Linked DNA regions of Homo sapiens: regions 1 and 3 are each linked to region 2. The links are contacts of gene promoters, found by promoter capture Hi-C in human tissues and cell types (Jung and others, 2019). All regions are on one chromosome and are shown on one strand. The core of a region is centred on a gene start or on the middle of the fragment in contact, and the rest is flanking DNA. Distances in the headings are between cores, read along the strand shown. Region 1 overlaps EIF2B1 (eukaryotic translation initiation factor 2B subunit alpha). Region 2 holds the start of DIABLO (diablo IAP-binding mitochondrial protein). Region 3 overlaps MPHOSPH9 (M-phase phosphoprotein 9).

Region 1 (3,113 bases), core at 546-3,045, 1.4 Mb after region 2:
TGTAGCTGGACAGTGTTTTCCCCTAGATGGCCTGGTCAGCTTGCAGTATTGATGCAACACCACATCAGCGTCTTTCATAGAGTTTATTTGAAAAGATGCTGAATTTATTCCCAAGTATAATTTTAAAAAGCTGTTTAGGACCCAAACATATTTAAACATCTCTTACACATACAGAATTTCAGTTTACAAATATTCCAGAAGGCATTTTCTTAAGCAGTGAACCATGCAGAATACTGTTGCTAAACATCGTTTCTGCCTTCCTCGTGTTCTCTTGGTAGTTTTTACTGTTTGGCTTGATCCTGCTGAGGAATGTGCTTACCACTGGAAGCCAGATGCAGATTCAGCAAGTGTTTCTTGCCTCTTACAAGGCACCGCGTGTAACGTCCTGACCAGCTGTTGGTCATTTGTGGCAGAGGGGTGTGGCTGCTTTTCGCCTGCATCTCGCGTGCTTTAGGCAGATCAGTCTGGAGTGCAGGGGAGGATGAAGACAGGTGGACTTGGGCTCATCTTTCATCAGTTAAGTAGCCAATTATCTAACTTGTATTTCTGGAAACTGAAAAGGAAAGTTTCTAGAAACCGTAAGAACAATTTAAGTTGGGATTTAGAATAGCTGACACATTTTTAGATGGGACTGAAATGAGTAAGAAAGGTTCTCCAAGATGTATGATTTTAAGTCCTTACTCCATAAATCTTCATTAAACACATCTCAGTTTTGGCCTGACTCACTGGGGTGTCAAGCAGCTACTCACCCTGCCTCAACTACGTAAGCTGCACCTTGGCAGGAAAGGGCTCACAGGTTACAGATAGAGCTTGATGAGCTCATCGCTGACTGCTGAGGGTGTCAGCACGCCCAGGTCTGTAAACAGCAGAGTGATTAAGGAAGGGGCAGTGTAGTCGACCCACGGATGCTCCTCTTTGAGGTCTTGTCCAGTCTGCGCGACCTTGAGAGTGTCTGCCTTATACTGAGGAGAGAAGTACACATTAGTCGGCACTGAATATTTAGTGCTCTGACCTGGTAGGGCCTTGGTGTGAGTGATCAGTGTGCTACTTCCTGAGACTGCTCTCTGAAAATGGGAGAAACTAAGCTATGCAGGACACTAGAGACGAGGGCAGAGTTGTGGCCATGAGCCAGATCATGGCAGTGTGCTGGCTGAGAGCTGTAGTGTAACAAACTTAAATCCCATGTCCCCTCATTCTCATGCCGGATTAACTTCTCCAGACCTCTCAAGGGAAGATCGAGAGTCACAATAGAGAGCTTGCAGCGTGCCAGGGACTGTGCTAAGATTATCTTAGAATCCTCATGACCCTGTCAGATACTGCTATGCCATTTTACAGACAAGAAAACCGGTTCAGAGGTTGAAATGAAAGGACTTGCCTCAACTCGCACAGTTTGTAAGTTGTGGTGATGGGAGCTGAGCTCAGTTAAGCCCAAAGCTGGGACTTACCCACCAGCTTCGGGCTTCCTCTCCACCCATCTATGGTGCTACTTAAAGAGACTGAAAGACTGAAGTTCTAGGGACAAATGTGTGAGTCCAATCACCAATTTATCTTTGTATTCCAAGTGTTGGGGAAAGTAGCAATAGGAAGTGAAAAAATTACTGGAACATTCTTAGGACTACAATTTCCAAAGGTTTCTGTTTAGACTTTAGTACCCCTTCAAATATGTAAAACTCTTGCCTTAAACTTATCTGGGACGTCTTGCTGGTTTAGTGGAAAGAGCCGGACAAACTTGAAACTTTCTGCAACCACATAGAAAGGTTTGTTCTGTGCTTTGGCACACACAGCCATCTGGTTGGTTCCAATCTGGGAAGGCAGAAAATGGAATGGATGAGCTCTAGAGTGCATCTGAAGTAGAAGCCACAGAAAAGCGGGCCGGGCACAGTGGTGCATGCCTGTATTCCAGCATTTTGGGAGGCCGAGGTGGGTGGATCACCTGAACCCATGAGTTTGGGACCAGCCTAGGCAACACGGTGAGACCTCGTCTCAATTACAATAAAGGAACAATTAAAAAACAGCAATAGAAAGTTATGTATATAATATAGATATACATATATCTAATACATATATTAGATATATCTAATTCTGACTTTGGAATCAAAAAAATAAATGTTTCTCAAAGGATATAGAAACAGCCACTAGAGGCTGGATGTGGTGGCTCACGCCTGTAATCCCAGCACTTTGGGAGGCCGAGGTGGGTGGATCACCTGAGGTCAGGAGTTTGAGACCAGCTGGCCAATATAGGGAAACCCCATCTCTACTAAAAATACAAAAAATTAGCTGGGCATGGTGGGATGGGGGGTGCCTGTAATCCCAGCTACTAGGGAGGCTGAAGCAGGAGACTCGCTTGAACCCGGGCACTGGAGGTTGCAGTGAGCCAAGACTGTGCCATTGCACTCCAGCCTGGACAGCAAGAGTGAAACTCCATCTCAAAAAATAAAAAAATTTAAAAAAACAAGTGTTGGCAAGGATGTAGAGAAATTGGAACCTTTGTGCTTTGCTAGTGGGAATGTAAAGTAGTGCAGCTGCTGTGGAAAATCATTAGTTTCTGAAAGTTAAATATATAGTTACCATGTGACTCAACACTCTGCCTGCAGACCTCCGCCTCCCAGGTTCAAGCGATTCTCCTGCGTCAGCCTGCCAAGTAGCTGGGATTACAGGCACCCGCCACCATGCCCAGCTAATTTTTTGTATTTTTAGTAGATATGGGGTTTCACCATGTTGGCCAGGCTGGTCTCGAACTCCTGACCTCAGATGATCTACCTGCCTCAGCCTCCCAAAGTGCTGGGATTATAGGCGTGAGCTACTACGCCCGGCCTTATGTTACATATATTTTAACTAAAAAAAGCTTTCATGAAGCTTTTCTAAATTAAATAATGGAGAGAGAGATTGTAATAAATTGAGGTCAAATGTGCTCAATTAAAATGAAAACAAATGACAGGCCGGCCACAGTGGCTCATGCCTGTAATCCTAGCACTTTGGGAAGTGGAAAGATTGCTTCAGGCTAGGAGTTCAAGACTGCAGTAAGCTATGATCACTGTACTACACTACAGCCTGGGCAACAGAGTGAATGTGTCTCTATTTTAAAATATATATAATATTTATATATAAATACA
Region 2 (3,021 bases), core at 166-2,665:
GTCTGTACCTGGAAGTAGAAGTCAGATTTCATAAGGCACGACCGCCAATCTGTAACAGGCTCTTGGATTTACTTGCAGGGGCTGTAAACTCAAACTCGAGCCAAGCAGGAACCTAAATGAGGATGCAGGACAGCTGAGGGGTTTTGAAATTTTCAACATACACCAAGTTTAAAATGTTGCCTCAGGCAGGGTGTTGGTGGCTCACGCCTGTAATCCTAGCACTTGGAAGGCCAAGGGCAAGGCGGGAGGATCACTTGAGCCCAGGAGTTCACGACCAGCCTGGGCAACATGGCTGGCAACATGACCCCGTGTCTATTAAAAAAAAATAAGTAAATAAAGGCCGAGGCGGGTGGATCACTTGAGGTCAGGAATTCGAAATCTGCCTGACCAACATGGTGAAACCCCATCTCTACTTAAAACACAAAAATTAGCCCGGAGTGGTGGCACGCTCCTGTAATCCCAGCTACTCGGGAGGCTGAGGCAGGAGAATCGCTTGAACCTGGGAGGCAGAGGTTGCAGTGAGCCGAGAGCGCCCCACTGCACTTCAGCCTGGGCAACAGAGCGAGACTGAGTCTCAAACAAAACAAAAAGAAAAAAAAAAATTAGCCGGGCGTGGTGGCGGGCGCCTGCAATCCCAGCTACTCGGGAGGCTGAGGCTGAGAATCGCTTGAAGCCGGGAGGCACAGGTTGCAGTGAGCTGAGATCTCGCCACTGCACTCCAGCCTGGGCGACAGAGGCAGATCTTGTCTCAAAAAAATTAAAATAAAATAAAATGTTGCCTTTAAACTTTTTAGAAACGGATGCCACAATAACCGCTCCTGCAGGCAGAATTTAGCTCTGGACCCCTGGCCTGGGTGCCAGTTGTGTGTGACGGTCCCGCTACAATCGCCCAGGAGCCTGCAGCGCTAGGTAGAGAGCCCTGCGCCAGCTCCCCCGGCCCCTTCTGCCCTCGGGAGGACGTCTTCAGACGCTCGTCTCCCTTCCCGGACTCCCCCCATGCCGTGTCCCTCCTCCTCTCCACGTCTCCTCAGGGACTTCGAGTGGCTGACGAGGGCTGGTCAGGAGGCGGAGCAGCCCCAAGAAGGCAGCCCGGGGTCTCGGGGACTCGTTTCTAGAAGATGGACGAACTGAAAAGGAAGCCGGGCTTGACCCAGGGGGCGGAGGCGGGGCTGTCCTCAGTCCTCCCGACCGGAGCGAGACGCCGCGACCCAGCTGGGCGGACGAGAGATGAGCGCGTAAGGAAGGCGGGCGCCGTGGGCCGGGCCACAGCGCTGTCCGCGTCGGTCCCTCCCTCTGGTCCTGTCCCCTCTACGCGGCCGCAGCGGTACCTGAAGAATGAAGTTACGCTGCGCGACAGCCAACTCTTCAGAGCCGCCATTGTGCAGCGCGCGGACGCCAGACGCACACGCCGGAAGTGACGCAGCTTCGTGAGCGCGGAGCGGGGCACGGCCTCCACCTGAGAGCGCCTCGCCCCATAGCCACGCCCCCACCCAAGGAAGCAGTCGGGATTGGGCAGGCAGGGGGAAAGGGGGCGAGGCTTAGGGCAAAGGCTGTAACGGCCGCGCAAGGCAACCAACCGCCGGAACTTCCGCGCGGGGCGGGGCATATGCAGGGCCTGAGGGCGCGGAGGTGGGTCCGGCGCGGAGCTGAGTCGGGCGCCGTGACGCTGGCGGGTGGGCGGGGACTCAGTTCGGGCCAGGGCTTGAAGGGAATTTCCTGGTGAGTTAGGGAGGCGGGGCCGGGCGGGAGGCGGGGCCGGGCGGGAGGCGGGGCCGGGCGCGGCGACGGCGCTGTCACTTCAGCACCAGGAAGTAAGTGGTCCAGCCGGCCAGCAGCAGCGCCCCGATGAGCACCGTGTAGCTGAGGAGCACGAAGGCGAGCAGCTCCCGCAGCAGCTGCAGCACGTGGACGGTGGACGAGGCCGGCATCGCGCTGCGCGGGAGCCCCAGGACGGTCGGCGGCCTGCCGGGCTGGCGCCGTCCCAGAGGGGCGGACGGGAACACACGAGGTCCTGGCCCTCGAAACAGCAAACGAAGGCCAGGAAGCCCACAGTGCCGACCTCCCCAACAGCCTCCTGGACGCTCGCTTCTCGGTTACACTGGAGAATCCTTCTCAACCCAAACTGCCCTCGTTCTTCGGCTCTGATCCGGGCTGAGGAGGCAGAAGCCCGGCTCTTCCCCGCGCCCCGCAGCTGCATGAGTTTTCCTCCCTGGCCCGCTCCTCCCACCACCTCCTGCATTTTTAATGCTGTGAGTGCCGCTAATGCGCTGGTGGAGTAAACCTTTCTTTTCCCGTCACTCAAGCTGCAGCCCCAGCTGCGGCCCTGGCTGGAAGGGGAAGGGGAGAGAGACCCATTTGGGCAGGAGGAAGGCACAGGCCCAAACCTGCTCTTCTGTGAGTCCCCTGGCCCCAAGGCTTGCCAGCAGCAGAGCTGGAGGATCTTTGCTTTGTGGTCCAGCATGCTTGCCTTCTGGCCAGCTGGGACTGCAGGGTGCCAGGTGGTGGGTGGGCATCAATCCGATCCTGGGCTCACCCCCGCCACCGTGCTCTGTGCATCTGCCCCAGCCCTGCTAACTTCCACCAGAGACGACATCAGACAGTAAGAACCCCACACCAGCTCATCAGACAGTAGGAACCCTACAACACCTCCAATGCTGCTTTGCCCAGCCACTCCCCACAGTGTCAGGCACTGGCTTCCTTCTCTCCCCACCTCACTTACTTGGCAAAGTTTCCACGAATCTTCCACCCTGAAGCTCCGCGGTTCTGTCTGCTCTGGTGCCCAAAGGTAGCTTGTGTGTATTCTGCGATCTCGGCAGAACTGAGATTTTCAAGCAGCGGCACTCAACAACTAGGTGTGGTCTAGAGACCAATTACAACCTCCGCGTGGTCCCCGAGCTCTCAGGGAGCTGCGCACAGGCGTTCCTAGCCCAGGCGGGGCGCTGGCAACCCTGCCCGCCCTCTGCCTGTGTCGCCACCACAGCCCACAGGGCTCAGATGTGGTTTCACAGACCCAGATGGGCT
Region 3 (3,245 bases), core at 614-3,113, 1.0 Mb after region 2:
AACCTGGGCAACATAGCAAAACCTTGTCTCAACAAAAAATGCAAAAATTAGCTGGGCATGGTGGTGTGCACCTGTAGTCCCAGCTACTTGGGAAGCTGAGGTGGGAGGATGGCTTGAGCCCAAGAGGTTGAAGGTACAGTGAACAGAGATTGTGCCACTGTACTCCAGCCTGGATGACAGAATGAGACCCTATTTCAAAAAAAAAAAAAAAAAGAAAGAAAGAAAAGAGAGAGAATGAAAGAGGAGAAAAAGAAACAAAGAAAAGGAAGGAAGGAAGAAAGGAAGGGAGGGAGGGAGGGGGTGGGAGGGAGGGGAGAGGAGAGGTGGGGCAGGGAATATATTCTGATTCTGACTTAAGATGCTAATGTCAAAAAAAAAAGGTTGATTTCTAATTATCAAAAGTAACAATTTCTAGTTAAACACAAATTTTCCAGAAGTTAAAATACATTGTGGCAATGCCTCCTTTGTCCTAAAGCATGTTAATTCAGTTATCAAAAGCTAATAAGGGCTAGCCACGGTGGCTCATGCCTGTAATCCCAGCACTTTGGGAAGCCAAATCAGGCAGATTACCTGAGGTCAGGAGTTCGAGACCAGCCTGGCCAACATGGCTAAACCCCTTCTCTACTAAAAATACAAGAATTAGCTGGGCATGGTGGCGCTCGCCTGTGATCTCAGCTACTCGGGAGACTGAGGCAGGAGAATCACTTGAACCTGGGAGGCAGTGGTGGCAGTGAGCCGAGATCGCACCATAGCACTCCAGCCTGGGCAACAGAGCAAGACTCTGTCTCAAAAACAAACAAACAAATAAACAAAAAGCTTATGAGTAGATACATTAAGGGAAGCATTTAATATACTTAATAAAACATTCCATTTTTAATTGCATTTGCATGGGCATTTTTAAAGGTCTTTCACGTTAGTGCATACTGATTATTATATGCAAACAAGCATAAAGTATAAAAACTGAAAACTCAATTTTTTAAGCATATAATAATACTTTTTTATAATTTCAATAATTATGGATAATGGATATAAATAATTACACTTAGCAGTTGCTGCTATCGAATTCTTAAACCAGGTAATCTTTCATTTCGCTTACTCTACATTCTGAAAAATAACACAAATTATGCTTCTAAAAGTACAATTAACGTTTAAAACAAGATCTAGTGCTTTCTAAGAATTAATAATGGTTTAAACATTTCTATAAAAAACTATCAAATCCAGCCTTAGGAAAGTCTATCTTGAGCATTATCCTATGAAATAAAATTTATATATACTTTTTTTTTTTTTTACTGAGGGGGTCTTGCTATGTTGCCCAAGCAGGTCACAAACTCTGGGCACAAGCTATCCACCTCTGCCTCAAGTGCTGGGATTACAGGTTCTCTTTTTTTATATATAGAGAGAGACAGGGTCTCAGTCTGTCACCCAGGCTGGAGTGTAGTGCTGTGATCATAGCTCACTGCAACCCTGACTTCCTGGGTTGAAGTGATCCTCCCACATCAGCCTCCCAAGTAGCTAGGACTACAGACACCGTGCCACCATGACCAGCTAATTTATTTATGTATTTATATTTGTAGAGACAGGGTCTCGCTATCTTGCCCAGGCTAGTCTCAAACTCCTGGCCTCAACCAAACCTCCCACCTTGGCCGCCTAAAGTGCTGGGATTACAGGCGTGAGCCACTGTGCTCGGCCATGTAAGTATTCTTTTAACTGTTACATTTTTATATCACAATTTAACCTATGAACCAAAGAAAGAACCACTGATCTGAAAACAATATAATGCAATGTATCACAGCTGAATATGGTAAGGTACTAAATAGAAGCTTCAATTTATAATTAGAACATTGAAAATATTTCAAAGTGGATTTAGGTTTTTCAAAATGATGACAATTCCATATAAGTTACTGACAACATTACAATTAGTAACAATTTTAATAATTTTGGGATTCTCAGGTCTCTGAACCAAGACAATGTTTTAGTTCATATTTAATATACAAATTAGTATGTCTAATCAGTAATATATTGTTAAAAAATACTTTTGATCACCTTTTTCCCATTCATTCAATATCATTCCCAAATTAATATACTTGACCACTTTAGCATTAACTTAAAAGTGTCATGCTCTTCAGGACATAAATTTCTAATAATTTAGAGTTTAGTAGAGGTATGTTTTAACATAATTATTTTAAAATTCCAAAAATAAAACAAAATTAGATACCTCACAGTTTTTCCAAAGTTCCGAATCAGTCTTTCCACTGTTTTGTAGCTCTTGCATTAAAGAAGTTAGGACTTCAACTGTACCTTGAATTACAGATGGTCTGGTCTTCCCTGAGAAAGAGGATACCCCATTTGTACTAAGGTGGGGACTACTTCTGTTGAAACATAAATAATTCAAATGGTTTTCTTCATTCTATCAAAGTGTTGAATAATTCAGCAGTTCAAGATTTAGCAGAGCAGTACAAAACCACTGACATTTAATCCTTCTAATGGCACCTCATTTGTTCAAAATCTGATCACAAGTTGCTCCACAAAAGGAAACGGCCAGTAAAAAGACCGCACTGTACTCTTTTTAAGAACACAACAAGAAGACCTTCTCCAGAAGTGAGAGAACACTCCAAAGGATCGGCAGAAAATAGAAAAAGTCTGTGCTAAACAATAAGATTAATTTCCAGCTTCTCTGATCTCAGCTATTCCAGAGGATTATTTCCCCCAACTTTCAGAACAGCCCTTCATTGTGCAGTGGGGATTCTTTCCCCACTGCCCCAAATGACAGTCAAATCTTGTTCACTGGACACCCTTAATTTGGTACGATAAGCTGATGCTTATCTCTGCACTATCTCTGCATAAAAGTTGTGCCAAGCAAATCAGCAGCAAATATTCAGGACTTATTTAGCCTACTCAGTGTGTAAAACAGCACTGAGTTTTTCCAGGAGTACTGCTTTTCCAAACTTCAGGTAAGTTATTTCGGATTTGTTTTATAAACACACAATATATTTCAGGACATTAAAATGTACTTAAAATCTAGTCACCAAAAGATCATTTTAATTTATTTACTGCTTGATATCCTGCTTTCTTTCACAAATAATTTGTTTAAAAAAATAAATAAAAATAACAATAAAATAATAGTTAGGACCAGTGAAAATATTACTAAAAATTCAAAGGAGGCCAGGCGCAGTGGCTCACGCCTGTAATCCCAGCACTTTGGGAGGCCAAGGCGGGCGGATCACCAGGTCAGGAGATCAAGACTG

What was found. Contacts are between HindIII fragments. The study calls those that stand out against the background at their distance.
Region 1: a contact is called between a fragment that was not itself captured here and the fragment with the promoter of DIABLO in region 2, in 1 of the 25 tissues and cell types used here (dorsolateral prefrontal cortex).
Region 3: a fragment that was not itself captured here is called in contact with the fragment with the promoter of DIABLO in region 2 in 1 of the 25 tissues and cell types used here (IMR-90 fibroblasts).

What each region holds. Positions count from the first base shown.
Region 1 is chr12:123,620,959-123,624,071 of GRCh38, forward strand. It overlaps EIF2B1 (eukaryotic translation initiation factor 2B subunit alpha), which reads right to left. Exons shown (of 9, transcript NM_001414.4): 8 at 1,678-1,803; 9 at 1-962. The coding sequence ends at 798. Among named protein-coding and RNA genes, the nearest start is that of SNORA9B, 5.8 kb to the left of the region's middle. RefSeq lists an enhancer at 419-1,618. The HindIII fragment of the contact is 7,939 bases long and covers 1-3,113 here.
Region 2 is chr12:122,224,637-122,227,657 of GRCh38, forward strand. It overlaps DIABLO (diablo IAP-binding mitochondrial protein), which reads right to left and starts at 1,416. Exons shown (of 6, transcript NM_001371333.1): 1 at 1,329-1,416; 2 at 1-8. The coding sequence starts at 1,378. It overlaps LOC128125816, which reads right to left and starts at 1,928. Exons shown (of 1, transcript NM_001414998.1): 1 at 1,794-1,928. The coding sequence starts at 1,928. The coding sequence ends at 1,794. It overlaps LOC101593348 (a long non-coding RNA gene), which reads left to right and starts at 1,806. Exons shown (of 1, transcript NR_103497.1): 1 at 1,806-3,021. RefSeq lists enhancers at 1-723, 1,133-1,182, 1,193-1,432, 1,486-1,780, 1,730-2,561 and 1 more and a silencer at 1,723-1,862. The HindIII fragment of the contact is 13,255 bases long and covers 1-3,021 here.
Region 3 is chr12:123,225,248-123,228,492 of GRCh38, forward strand. It overlaps MPHOSPH9 (M-phase phosphoprotein 9), which reads right to left. Exons shown (of 24, transcript NM_022782.4): 3 at 2,216-2,369. Among named protein-coding and RNA genes, the nearest start is that of MPHOSPH9, 6.3 kb to the right of the region's middle. The HindIII fragment of the contact is 6,998 bases long and covers 1-3,245 here.